Regions from separate parts of the Homo sapiens genome. Here regions 1 and 3 are each linked to region 2. Evidence: promoter capture Hi-C in 16 types of primary human blood cells and fetal thymus (Javierre and others, 2016). All regions are on one chromosome and are shown on one strand. The core of a region is centred on a gene start or on the middle of the fragment in contact, and the rest is flanking DNA. Distances in the headings are between cores, read along the strand shown.

Evidence for each region. Contacts are between HindIII fragments. The CHiCAGO score rates a contact against its expected background, and 5 or more counts as called.
Region 1: a contact is called between a fragment that was not itself captured here and the fragment with the promoter of METAP1 in region 2, in 2 of 17 cell types (M2 macrophages and total B cells). The highest score is 5.8, in M2 macrophages.
Region 3: a fragment that was not itself captured here is called in contact with the fragment with the promoter of METAP1 in region 2 in 5 of 17 cell types (M0 macrophages, total B cells, total CD4 T cells and 2 more); the score reaches 7.3 in M0 macrophages.

Annotation. Positions count from the first base shown.
Region 1 is chr4:98,441,908-98,445,694 of GRCh38, reverse strand. RAP1GDS1 (Rap1 GTPase-GDP dissociation stimulator 1) reads right to left here. Exons shown (of 15, transcript NM_001100427.2): 15 at 1,837-3,705. The coding sequence ends at 3,578. Among named protein-coding and RNA genes, the nearest start is that of RAP1GDS1, 180 kb to the right of the region's middle. The HindIII fragment of the contact is 1,285 bases long and covers 1,267-2,551 here.
Region 2 is chr4:98,993,204-98,997,111 of GRCh38, reverse strand. METAP1 (methionyl aminopeptidase 1) reads right to left here and starts at 1,391. Exons shown (of 11, transcript NM_015143.3): 1 at 1,245-1,391. The coding sequence starts at 1,358. RefSeq lists enhancers at 196-978, 1,900-1,949 and silencers at 720-1,179, 1,340-1,659. The HindIII fragment of the contact is 4,143 bases long and covers 96-3,908 here.
Region 3 is chr4:98,467,553-98,471,673 of GRCh38, reverse strand. It overlaps TSPAN5 (tetraspanin 5), which reads left to right. Exons shown (of 8, transcript NM_005723.4): 8 at 1-1,307. Among named protein-coding and RNA genes, the nearest start is that of TSPAN5, 190 kb to the left of the region's middle. The HindIII fragment of the contact is 1,953 bases long and covers 410-2,362 here.

The sequences.
Region 1 (3,787 bases), core at 660-3,159, 550 kb after region 2:
TTGGGGGTTGTTTTTTGAATCCTTTTAGTTGGGAATCCTGCAGCAGTGAGAGAGGAGTATATAGGTTAGGCCCTAAGATATCACAATTCCATCTCACCTTGTCTTGAACGTCTAAAAGTTCAATTGTCATGAAAATCCTAAGGGAAGTAGGGATTATTAAACTTGTCATATTGAGAAATCAGGCCCAAAGAGTTTAAGTAACTTGGCTATGGTCACACAGCTAGTATGTAACAGACCCAGGATATGACTATAGATTAGACAGCATCCAAAGACCACACTCTTTGCACTGTATCACCCTTTTAAAGTACATAACTTGAGTCAGACACACCTATAAAACATACGCCTGTAATCCCAACACTTTGGGAGGCCGAGGCGGGTGGATCACTTGAGGTCAGGAGTTCAAGACCAGCCTGGTCAACATGGTAAAACCCTGTCTCCACTAAAAATACAAAAATTAACCAGGCGTCAGAGCACATGCCTGTAATCCCAGCTACTTGGGAGGCTGGGACAGGAGAATCACTTGAACCTGGAAAGCGGAGGTTGCAGTGAGCAAGATCGTGCCACTGCACTCCAGCCTGGACGACAGAGTGAAGTTACATGGCATATTATTTATATGTATATAGGCAAAGTTAGAGATCACACCTGTGAAAAAAGACCTCAGTTTTCCTGGCTACAGCTATAAAGATTCATCCCAAATATTATTACATGCTTTTTAATAGACACTTGTGTAATACAAATGTTATAGCGTCCTAATGTTAAGTGGCTTTTAAGCTTACTGATTCCAGTAACAGCTGGATACAAAGGGTAATGCTCACCTAAATGTCTTAATGTCTAGATATCCTCACCCAGTATGTTCAAGAGAATTAGATAATAAGCCTCCTAATTATAACAAAGAGCATTTCTTTTTGAATTCTTCACATGTAGCATTTTTCAGAACACTTCAGACTAATGCTTGCATATGAGAACTGCATTCTATTCAAGAAATCATTTTAGATGAAAAAGTTTTCTTCTATGTCTCCATTCTTATCAGACAGTATGCTCAAAACATGTTTTTATCATGGAAAACACTGGGTTATGGGCTAGTGTTTGCTTTGAGCACAATGAGGTTATGGTCTAGGTGGGTGGGCTGGCATGACTCCAAGTTGCTAATGGGGTTGGGGGGAAAGGGGTATATTCTAGTGCATTGCACTCAGGCATCTTCTTTGCTTGTATTCCTGCCCTTTTCATCTATGTTCTAGTACTGGCTCAAGATTGACAGTTAAAGCTTTGTTGTGCTGTTCTTCCCTCCTGTTGTCTCCCTTAGAATGTACTCTTAGTGGGTAGCAAACTAACTTAATAAATAGTGGCCTCTAGGACTAAGATTTAGTAGCAGGAGATAAGCGAGAGTACAGTCTGTAGACTCTCCCATCCACTGCAATGGCACATCAGTGTACCATCTAATTTGGTAGCCCCTGTGATAAGGGCACAGCCTTCTGGTCTTTCCGTACAATGATGAGTACTTTGAATTGCACTTTATTTTGCTGGAGATGGGAGTTCCTAGCATATTAGCAAATTGATGGCTGGCAGCTGGCCTAGATGGTAACTTCTCTCACATTTACGATTTTAGGATGCTTTTGTTAAAATTTTTTCCCTAAAGTCAGACAAACTATCAAATCTCAAACTTTCTATCAGTCAGTCAGTCTATCTTTCTGGAATTAGTTCAGGCAGTCTGGAAACTTCATGGATGCAGGATTCATTCATTCAGTCAACAAATATTTGTTGAACATCAATAGCAAGCCTTATTCTAGGAGCTGGAAATAGAGACAAAATATACAAACAAACCAAATGATGCCATTATAGCTTCATATACTATTTATTAAGTTATTAATATGAACAGATATGCAACATTACAGATGTCTTTCAAAGCCTGTAATAAAATATAGTCCACTATCCAGCCCAGGAGAAAGACAACAAACAGTATCATTCTTATAGTAAGTGTAGCATACGTACTCACAATAGTTCCCTTATTTGGACATCAAAGGGAACAATCAGTCAAGATTCTTTACCTCCATTAGAATTTAACTTTCTTGGATTATAGCTGTTTTAGAGTCAAAAGTCCAACTTAGATTATCCACAGAGATGTGTAGCATCACATGTTGGAGAGGAAGGAGCTACTGTCACCTCCGTGGCAGCCCTTTCTACTGTCTTGCAGTCCTTCTATATCGAAGCCCATCTTGCCTTTTAGGCCAGTAGTGGTCAAATTTGGGTATGGGGAGAAGGCAGGTGGGTCACAGGGAGGTTTTGATTAATTTACAAAGATTGTGTTTCAAAGCTCTAAAAACCCATTTGGTGGTGGCAGTGGCAGTGAAGAGTACACTATATTTCGCCAAGGGGGTCTTCTCATCTCTTGAGTCTTGGCTTTCTCATATCCTTTAAAATTGCTGCAGTTCTCAGTGGGAAAGTGGAGGTGGCAAACTCTAACAGCGATTGGTATGGGGCCATCTGCAGAATGAACTGGACTGGCTACTATGGCTTTTATAACCTGCTTTCCTTTCTTTAGTCTAGACAAGCTTATTTCTTCATCTTTCCACCTACGTCCTGCTAGTTCTAACATAAGATTTAAAAGGACTATGGAAGATAAAACTTCTCACTTTCTAGCTGAATGATGAAAAACAGCAAAAAAAAAAAAAAAAAAAAAAATTCCATTCTTCAATGAACTATACTCAATTTCCTCAGTTGAAAACAAACAAGCGCCAAATGAATTTTAAAGACAAGTGCTGGATAATGCTGATTAACTGGTAGAAGTAGTTCCTGAGTGAAACAGCGTATGTATCAGAATCTAAAATACAAGCAAAACCCGAAATGCTCTGTAATAGGGATTGTAATAGTGATTCTTCAACCCCTTAGTTTCACACTGAAAACTACAAATGTTTTTCAATATCAGGCTATTGATAATAGTCAATTAAATATGGAATCAGAAACCTCAGAAAGTCTTGCCAAGTTTGTGGCAGTTTCAATAGTCTAAAAAGGAAAAAGGAGAAACCAGAAGTTAAAGAGTAAGAGCATTGGAATTTTATTTAACTCTAGGTACCATGGATTTGACATCAGTAGGAAAGACTAATGAATAAGCAGCCATACAACTTTTTTGGTCACTGTGCTTCCCAAGCACCAAAAAATGGAGCTATTTTTCCAATTCAGTTTCATCTTTAATAAGCTAGACAGATCCTGCTGCATTCTTTGTTTCTAGTTTACCAGTACATCATTATGTAGTTTACTGCATGTGTGGAGCAAGTCATTATGTAGTACCAAGTTTACATCATCATAGGACTACAACATGCACATTCTACTTAATGTAGCTCAAGCAACAGGAATACAAGAGAACGGTTATGGGTGGAGACTTGCCTTTGACAAAGTCATGATCACACTAACTATAGGTTTAGAAATCTTATTAGGGAGGTACCTACAGCGGTTCTTCAATTGGTATTAGAACATCACATGCATGCACAAGTGGTATGGTAGAGAATGAAGCGGAAGAAGCCGCTGGATGGAGGACAGAGGGGAAATTAGAGATGGGATGATGCCGTGTATCGGGCAGTTCTCAGCTTTCCACAGTAAGTCTCTGCTCTGTGAGAGAGGCCTGCTGGGCAACACTTTTGTTCTCATGACTGCGAAGTTTGGATACGACATCTAGAAAAGCCAAATCCTGTACTTCCTTGTGTAGACATTCTGGAAGACAAAAAAATAACAGATATGATTCTGTTAGGTTGTTCTAAGTCTATCCAAAACATATACCAAAATGTTTATTTTG
Region 2 (3,908 bases), core at 142-2,641:
GAGTTAAATCGTACTAGAATCCTTTAAAAAATAAAGGACTTTACATTATAACAGCATTTCACGTTCCTTGGATAATCTGGGTCTCAGAAGAAGCTTGTGAAACTTACAAAGAAAGCTATAATCATCCCCTCTGTACAGTGTAACACTGGAACTCAGAAAGATTAAGTAACTTTACTAATTCAAGATCGCACAATAACTGGCAAGGGCAGGGCCCCAATCAGGCCTTCTCTTTATTCCGGCTCTCCTCCCCACAGGACGCTACCAATTTAATATTTGAATATTCATGTGCCTCTCTTCACTAAACCTGGACTGTAACTAAGAGCCATACTATTGCCGCCCAGCCCTCATCCTGGGTCTCGAAATGCAGCAGCAACACTAGTACTCTTCAGTAAACAGAAACACGAGCACACGCTTCAGTCTGGACCCCATTCAACGCTGGGTTTGCTCTACTGCACAAAACTTAAAATACACTACAGCATTCACGCCTAACCCTCAATGGAACTGTCCTTTTCACTCTGGGAAATTCAGTCACAGGTGACTCATCCCGTTAGCTTACAGTTTTGTAAATTAATAATTTTATATACCGAAAGAAAAGAATGAATTACACAGACCTCTCCCTTCCCCACCCCCAAAGTTGCTTAAGTGTCAAAGCACGGTAGTAAAGCACAAAGAAGTGGGGCTGGAGCTAGCTAGCGTTCCTCCTCTCTGCGACTCCGACGGTCCTCGGGCCACCCATCTCTCAGAGCCCGGCAGGTAGCTTCAGCCCCCCACCCCGCAGGGACCCGACGGACGGCCCGGCGCCTCCAGCGCCCAGACCCGAGCCCCGCCGGTGCTGCGGATGTGGAGGCTCGCGACGCTCGGGCTGCCCTCCTTCCCGGCGCCGCTACCTGCCTCCGGCAGCCCGCACACCTGGCGGCCCCCGCCCCAGCGCGGGGAACCGGCCCCAGAACGCGGAGGTCTAGCGCGGCCACGCGACCCCGCACAGCCCGCTTCCGCCCCAGCCCACATGGCCGCGGCGGGTGGCGCCCCCGCCCCCGCGTGAGCCCAGCGCGGTTCCCGAGGACCCAGGGACCCCAGGAGGCAGGAGGGGGCGGTGGCGACGCGGGTGGGGGGAGGAGGAAACGCGGCCGGGGGGAAGAGGAGGAGCGCGTCCCGACTCGCCGCAAGGGCGGGAGGAGCCAGCAGGGGAGAAGCGAGGAGGGGTCCCGCAGCGGCGGCATATCCGCGGGGCAGCGGGCGCCTACCTGCGAGCAGAAGTACGAGCCCTGGATGCCCAGCTTGATGCAAGTGGGACACTGGAGCTTGGCCTCACTGCTGCAGCCGTCTGTCTCGCACACCCGCGTCTCCACGGCCGCCATGCTGCCTGCCCGCTGGAAGAGCGCCTCACCGAGGAAGAGGCGGCGGCGGGAGGGAGGAACTGCCGGGCGGAGGGGAGGGGAGAGAGACCGAGTCGGGGGAGGAGCTGGGCCCGCCGCTGGCCTGGGCGCGGGAGGGGGAGGAGCCAGGGCCGGCCGGGACCACGCAGCGCGCCCCGCCCCGGCCCCGCCCCCGCCCCGCGCGCGCAGCTGGTGCCCCGCCCCGCCGGCTTCGCCCCGCCCCCCGCCGGCGGTGCCTGCGTGCCCAAGCCTCCCGGCGGCGCGCACATTGGGGCTGTAAGGGAGCTCGGCAGGGCCCCCCCATTCGGCGCCTTCGGGCGTCGGCCAGCAGAGAACGCGACCTGCCGGCGCCTGACGGTGAGGAGCCGCCCTCTCGCGGCGCACTCTCTGTGCCTACAGTCAGATAAGACAGTCGTCTTCACTGACGAACACCCAGGAGCCCTGATCATCCCCGACACCCGCAGGAGGCTAGAGAGGGCGCTGCGCTCCTCTGCGTTGGATTCCCCCGCCGCTCCTTGGAGAACAGTCCCTTGGGTTAAGTTCTGTTTCTCACTGACATTGTCGGGTCTGAGGCCTAAGGACCACCGCTCATTCACAGAAAGGAGAGCCATAGAGCTGTCAACGGGACGGTGGGCTGGGATTCACATCTGCCCTCCCTCCTGCCAGACTTTTTTTTTCCACACACCACCACCTCCCCTTCAAAACCGATAGTGCTAGTAATAGTAACACAACTGTCAGGTATTCAATACAAATAATTTTTTTGTATAATCCCAGTTGATTGCTTCAGCAGTAAATAGGGGAGAATTGTGCTGATCCTGAAATGTCAGAGTCGAAAGAAGCTGTAAAGGCCTTCCCCTGCGAACCTGTTGCTTCAATCTTTTCAGCTGTATTCCAGGTCGGTTGTGTTGTAACTCATGCTTGAGTGCCTCCTTGTCACTAGGGAAGAGCGAAAAACTAACATTTACTGATCACAAAAGGCTGTGAACTTTGTTATTGTATTTTTTTAACTTCTCCGTACTTAATACACCAGAAAAGCTCATACTACTTTTATTTTTAAGAACTTTGTTTTGGCTAGGAGCGGTGGCTGACGCCTGTAATCAATCCCAGCACTTTGAGAGGCCAGGGCATCCAGGGCACCAAGGCCAGCGGATTCTTTGAGGCCAGGAGTTCGAGACCAGGGTGGAAATATGGCAAAACCCCGTCTCTACAAAAACTAAAACTAAAAACTAAAAAATTAGCCGGGCATGGTGGCAGGCGCCTGTAGTCCCAGCTACTGAGGAGGCTGAGCTGGGAGGATCTGTTGAACCTGAGAAGTCAAGGATATGGTAAGCTATGATCCTGCCACTGCACTCCAGCCCAAACGGCAGAGCAAGACCATGTCTCAAAAAAAAAAAAACTTAGTTTTGCAATATAAGCAGTAAAAATGATGTAATAAAATCAAGTAATAGAAATGTTTACATGCATACATACATATACTTTTGTATACAAGAAAAAAATCAATAAGTATGTATGTATGTATAAAATATTTTTTAAATAAAAACTGCACCATACCATATAAAGTAATTTACTTACCTGATTTCTTCAGTTACTATGATGTCAACTTTTTGTTTGTCGTTTGGTTTTTCTTTGAGACAGCATCTCATCCTGTCAACCAGGCTGGAGTGCAGTGGTGCTCACAGTGAGAGGTGACAGCGAGGTGACAGCATGCTGGCAGCCCTCGCAGCCCTTGCTTGCTCTCGGTGCCTCCTGGCCTCAGCTCCCATTCTGGCCGTGCTTGAGGAGCCCTTCAGCCGCCGCTGCACCGTGGGAGCCCTTCTCTGGGCTGGCCGAGGCCAGAGACGGTTCCCTCAGCTTGTGGTAGGTGTGGTGGCAGAGGCACGGGTGGCAACTGCGGCTGCGTGCGTCGCTTGCGGGCCAGCTAGAGTTCCAGGTGGGCGTGGGCTTGGCGGCCCGCACTCAGAGCGGCCGGCCGGCCCCGCCGGCCTCGGGCAGTGAGGGGCTTAGCACCTGGGCCAGCAGCTGCGGAGGGTGCGCCGGGTCCCCCAGCAGTGCCGGCCCACCAGTGCTGTGCTGGATTTCTTGCCGGGGCTTACCTGCCTCCCCACGGGGCAGGGCTCAGGACCTGCAGCCCGCCATGCCTGAGCCTCCCCCGGCCCCACCGTGGGCTCCTGCCCACGTGGCCCAAGCCTCCCCACGAGGGCCACCCCCTGCTCCAGGGCACCCGGTCCCATGGACCACCCAAGGGCTCAGGAGTGTGGGCTTACAGCTCGGGACTGGCAGACAGCTCCACCTGCGGCCCCAGTGCGGGAACCACTGGGTGTAGCCAGCTGGGCTCCTGAGTCTAGTGGGGACTTGGAGAACCTTTATGTCTAGCTAAGGGATTGTAAATACACCAATCAGCACTCGTATCTAGCTCAAGGTTTGTAAACACACCAATCAGCACCCTGTGTCTAGCTCAGGGTTTGTGGATGCACCAATCCACACTCTGTATCTAGCTAATCTGGTGGGGACTTGGAGAATCTTTATGTCTAG
Region 3 (4,121 bases), core at 137-2,636, 530 kb after region 2:
TTGTTTTGTATGTTTGTTGTTTTTCGTCTTCCAAAGGTGAAAGCTATGATACAGTTCCACTTAAATTTTAGTGTTTTCTTACTCAGCTCAAGCATTAATTTTTGATTAAGTCTTAATCTGCATGACCTGTGAATCTGAATCCATCATCTCCCTTTCCTGCCAGCTTTTCTACAAACATTGAAATATGTTATTTGGTCAGCACTTATTTCCTAGGTTCACAGCCTTGGGAGGTTGTGGCATGTCCTCCCAGTCTGGCTGGGAAGAGACCAGCTGTACCATCCAAATGCTTCCCTGGTCTTGATGATCTCTTCCAGAGTCGATCTGAGTGGCCTTTTCTGCACCCTCCCCTTCTTTCTCTTTGAATGGAATTAAACCCAATTTGGAAACAACATTGACCCAGTCAAAAGCTTCTAATGGTTTCTTTTTCTTCCTCCAGTTTTAGTTTGCTTTTATTAAAAAAAGAAAATAGTGCATGGCCATAGCTCCTTCAGTTCTCTTATTGCAGACTAACCATCAGGATGGTATCAAAGCACAAATACTTTGGAGGGGAATGCGTTGAACTGGGGCAAGTACTCTGTAACACAAAGTGGGAAACCACTTCCTGGTGCTGCCGCTCCTGCCCCCACTTTAGGTGGGAGGGACGAGTTTTGCCCTCTAGATTTTAATCCAGCTGGTGTCCACCGGATGTTGCCCTCCTGGGGAGCAGATATCAGTCTGTGGAACTCTGGGAAAACCACAGGCACATTTTTCGGTGCGGACAGATTTGCCAGCACATAACTGGGCAGCCAGCTAGAATACTTTGTGGAAATTAAGCGAGGTTTTCCATTTCAGCCCCATGGTGCATGGTGGTGGCCGATGAATGTGTCAGTCTGCTCAGAGAAAGGACAAAAAGGAAATTATTTTCAAAACTGTGTTCACTGTTTGGGTGTGTGTATGGCTCTGCATGTGTGTGTTTTTGTCTCTGTATAGGTAGAGGTATTCACATCTTACTCCGACTGTAAGGTTGTCTTACTTCATCTCTGCCCCCACCACAGTTGCCATTTTGTAATGTCCTTCCAACATGGAGAAGACACGAGCTCTCTCCAGTTGGCATCATTTGTCTTTTTTGTTGATTGCCTCATTCTCCAGTGAACTCCATCTGGCCAATTGATTCAGAATCAGGCAAGATCCCTGCCCTTTGGCACATCCACTGAAAGGCCAAACAGCAAGTCCGAGTGAGTTTTAAATATTAATTAATCACCCTTTATTTTTTACACTTGAGAGTGATTGTAATAAAGGCTGTCATTAATAAACTTGGTTCTACCTTACATGGTGTGTCTTTCTTCATTACTTCTTTCTTGAAATTGTGAAATTTTCGAATCCAGTGGTTCTCAAACTTTAGCAGGTGTCAGAATCACTGGGAGGACTTGTTAAAACACATGAATGCATTTGCTCCGTGCCCATAATTTCTAACTTAGTAGGTCTGGGGTGGGGCTGGAGAATTTGTATTCTGATAAGATCGTAGGTGATGCTGTTTGCGGCTTGTTTGGGGACTACACTTTGAGAAGCATTGTTCTGATCCAGTTTTCTAGGAGGGGAAACAGAAAGGTAAGATTTTGTAGTTGGGAAGGGAAAGGTTCCTTTGTACTTAAAAATGCTGACTGACAAGACACAGAGGCCAGAGCCTCGTATGTAGGAAATCCCTGCCCATGAGGTCATCTGCTGGTTACAATCACTTGGGGACCATGTGAAATACAGATTCCCCAGACCTTACCCCTAGCAGTTCTGGAGTGGGAGACAGGGTAATCTATGTTTTAAAAGCTCCCTTGAAAATTTAATGCCTGGTGGGATTTATGACTTATGGGCTTAGATAAATGTTGATAATATTCACAACCTTTTATATAAGAAAATAATTTCTCACAGTCCCTTGGAGCTGGAATCTTAAAAACCCATTAGAGAAACGTCAGCTTAAATGTCTTTCATTGTGAATTATCACTGCAGAAGAAGACTTCCGTCGTTAGAACTGATTAAATACTTTTTTCAAAGATCAAATGAAAACAAATTTTAAGGTTCATATAGCACACTTAGATCCTGACAACATAGTGTCAGACTTGTTCAAGAAACGTTTTGCCTCATATCTCAGATATTTGAAACAACGTTATTTTGATTTTAAGGAAATTTATCAGTGATGATTGGAGATGGCCAATCCCTGCTTCTTGAGTTTTCTTATTGTCTACATTGGCCCTCTTTGCTTGTTGCAAACTATAAGCCAACAAAGGAAAAAAAAATGACAGCTCAGAAGTAAAAGGATGCTTTGTCTATAAAACTCAAAAACTTGGAGGAAGTTTCTTCAATGTGTAGAAGGTAGACTTTAGGGGAAGCTTATTAAATTTCTCTTTATTTCTGTTGTTGGGCTGGTTACCACTAACATCATTGCTCCTATAATTTAAAAATATACAGTTTTTAAATGTGAACTCAGGAATTTAAAAATATTTTGCATCATGAAGTACTTAAAGAAGTGCATTTCCTTTGTTCTTCCTCTTCCTTCTCCCAGGGAGTAATAAACCTGGACTTTTCTTTCAGCCTTCTTCCTGCCACAGGTCCCAGTTGTCCTTTCCTCAAGGGGATCCTCAAAGTGTCTCTTGGAGGTTTCTTGTGCAAAGTGATCATTCATTTCCCCGTGTTTGTGTGGGCAGGAATGGAGTGATTTTGCAGTTTCGTCTGTTTCCGGCTGGCTTGGACAGGCGCCCTGGGAAGCCTGTGGGCTGAACAATGAGGAGCTGGAGCCCAGTGACCTGGCAGGCCACCCCAACTCCCTTTGTCATTTATTCCACGAAGCCCTCCTTCTCTAGGGAAATCCTGTTTAGACCTCCAATGAAGAACTGGGAAGCCCTCTATAAACGCTGGCCAGCAGGGTTTCATGGCCAGAGCTCTCTCCAGTGAGGCCATGGGGCTGCTTCTAGGTGCTGCCCAATTCCAGAGTGAGAAGCCTAGTCTTTGAGGAGGAAAATGCAGCATTTGCCTGAAAAATACATTAACATTGGCTTTATCATGATGACACAATAAAATCCATAGAAAATCTACACATGATAACAGACAAGGCAGTCAGATGGGGGTGGGGGGGTGGGTGGGGGCAGGGAGCACGGCGGAGAAGCCAAACTCTGAACTTGGAGCAAAGCCATCCTTACACTCACCCGAGCCTTTTTGTTTGGAGGGGTTTGCCACAAAGAGTTTATAAAATTACAGTTTTAGGCCAGACAAGGTGGCTGGCTCACACCTGTAATCCCAGCACTTTGGGAGGCCAAAACAGGATGATTGCTTGAGGACAGGAATTCAAGATTAGCCTGGGCAACATAGCAAGACCCCGTGTCTTAAAAAAATGAAAAAAAAAATTTTTTTTAATTAGCTGGACCTGGCGTCATGCACCTGTACTCCCAGCGACTCTGGAGGCTGGGGCAGGAGGACAGCTTGAGCCCAGGAGTGAAGTATGATCGCACCACTGCACTCCATCCTGGTTGGCAGAGGAAGACCCTGTCTCTAACTTAATAAAATTACAGTTTTTAGGACTTCTTGAGGGATTAAGTACAGCTTGCTTTGGCGTTTTCATGCTGAGTGGTTCTCTTGTAAACTTGCCGCTGGTGAGAGGAGGCTGATTTAGTCCCTTCCTGTTATCCATTAGCCGGGGCTAAACCTCTGGGGACCCGCACTGGCCATTGTGATTTATTTTTCCACTTCTAGGAATTCCCAAGTAAAGTAAATCTAAGGGAAGAGCAGGCGAGTTCACGGGCTTTCACTGTAAATATGCCCCGAAAGGAAAGCAGTAGCAGGCTTCCCACGCTCTTGCCCCATACCGAACGCACGCTTGCATTCTCCGTGGGGGAAAGCTACTTTTCAGATACGGAGCGGACCTTCAGGTGCTGTGTCAGCTCTTGCATTTGCAGAGCAACTCGTTTGAACGGGAACGTTTTAATGGCCTGCCCTCTAGTGTCGACTGCGTAAAACCACTCCGGACTGGAGTTGGAATAGTTCAGGGATAAAAACACTGTATGTTCAGAGGCGCTTGTGCTTTGGAGAAACTTGAAGGTACACAGCTTATGTTGCCTGCTTAGGGCGGGTAGGTGTTTTATTTCCTTTACACGCTC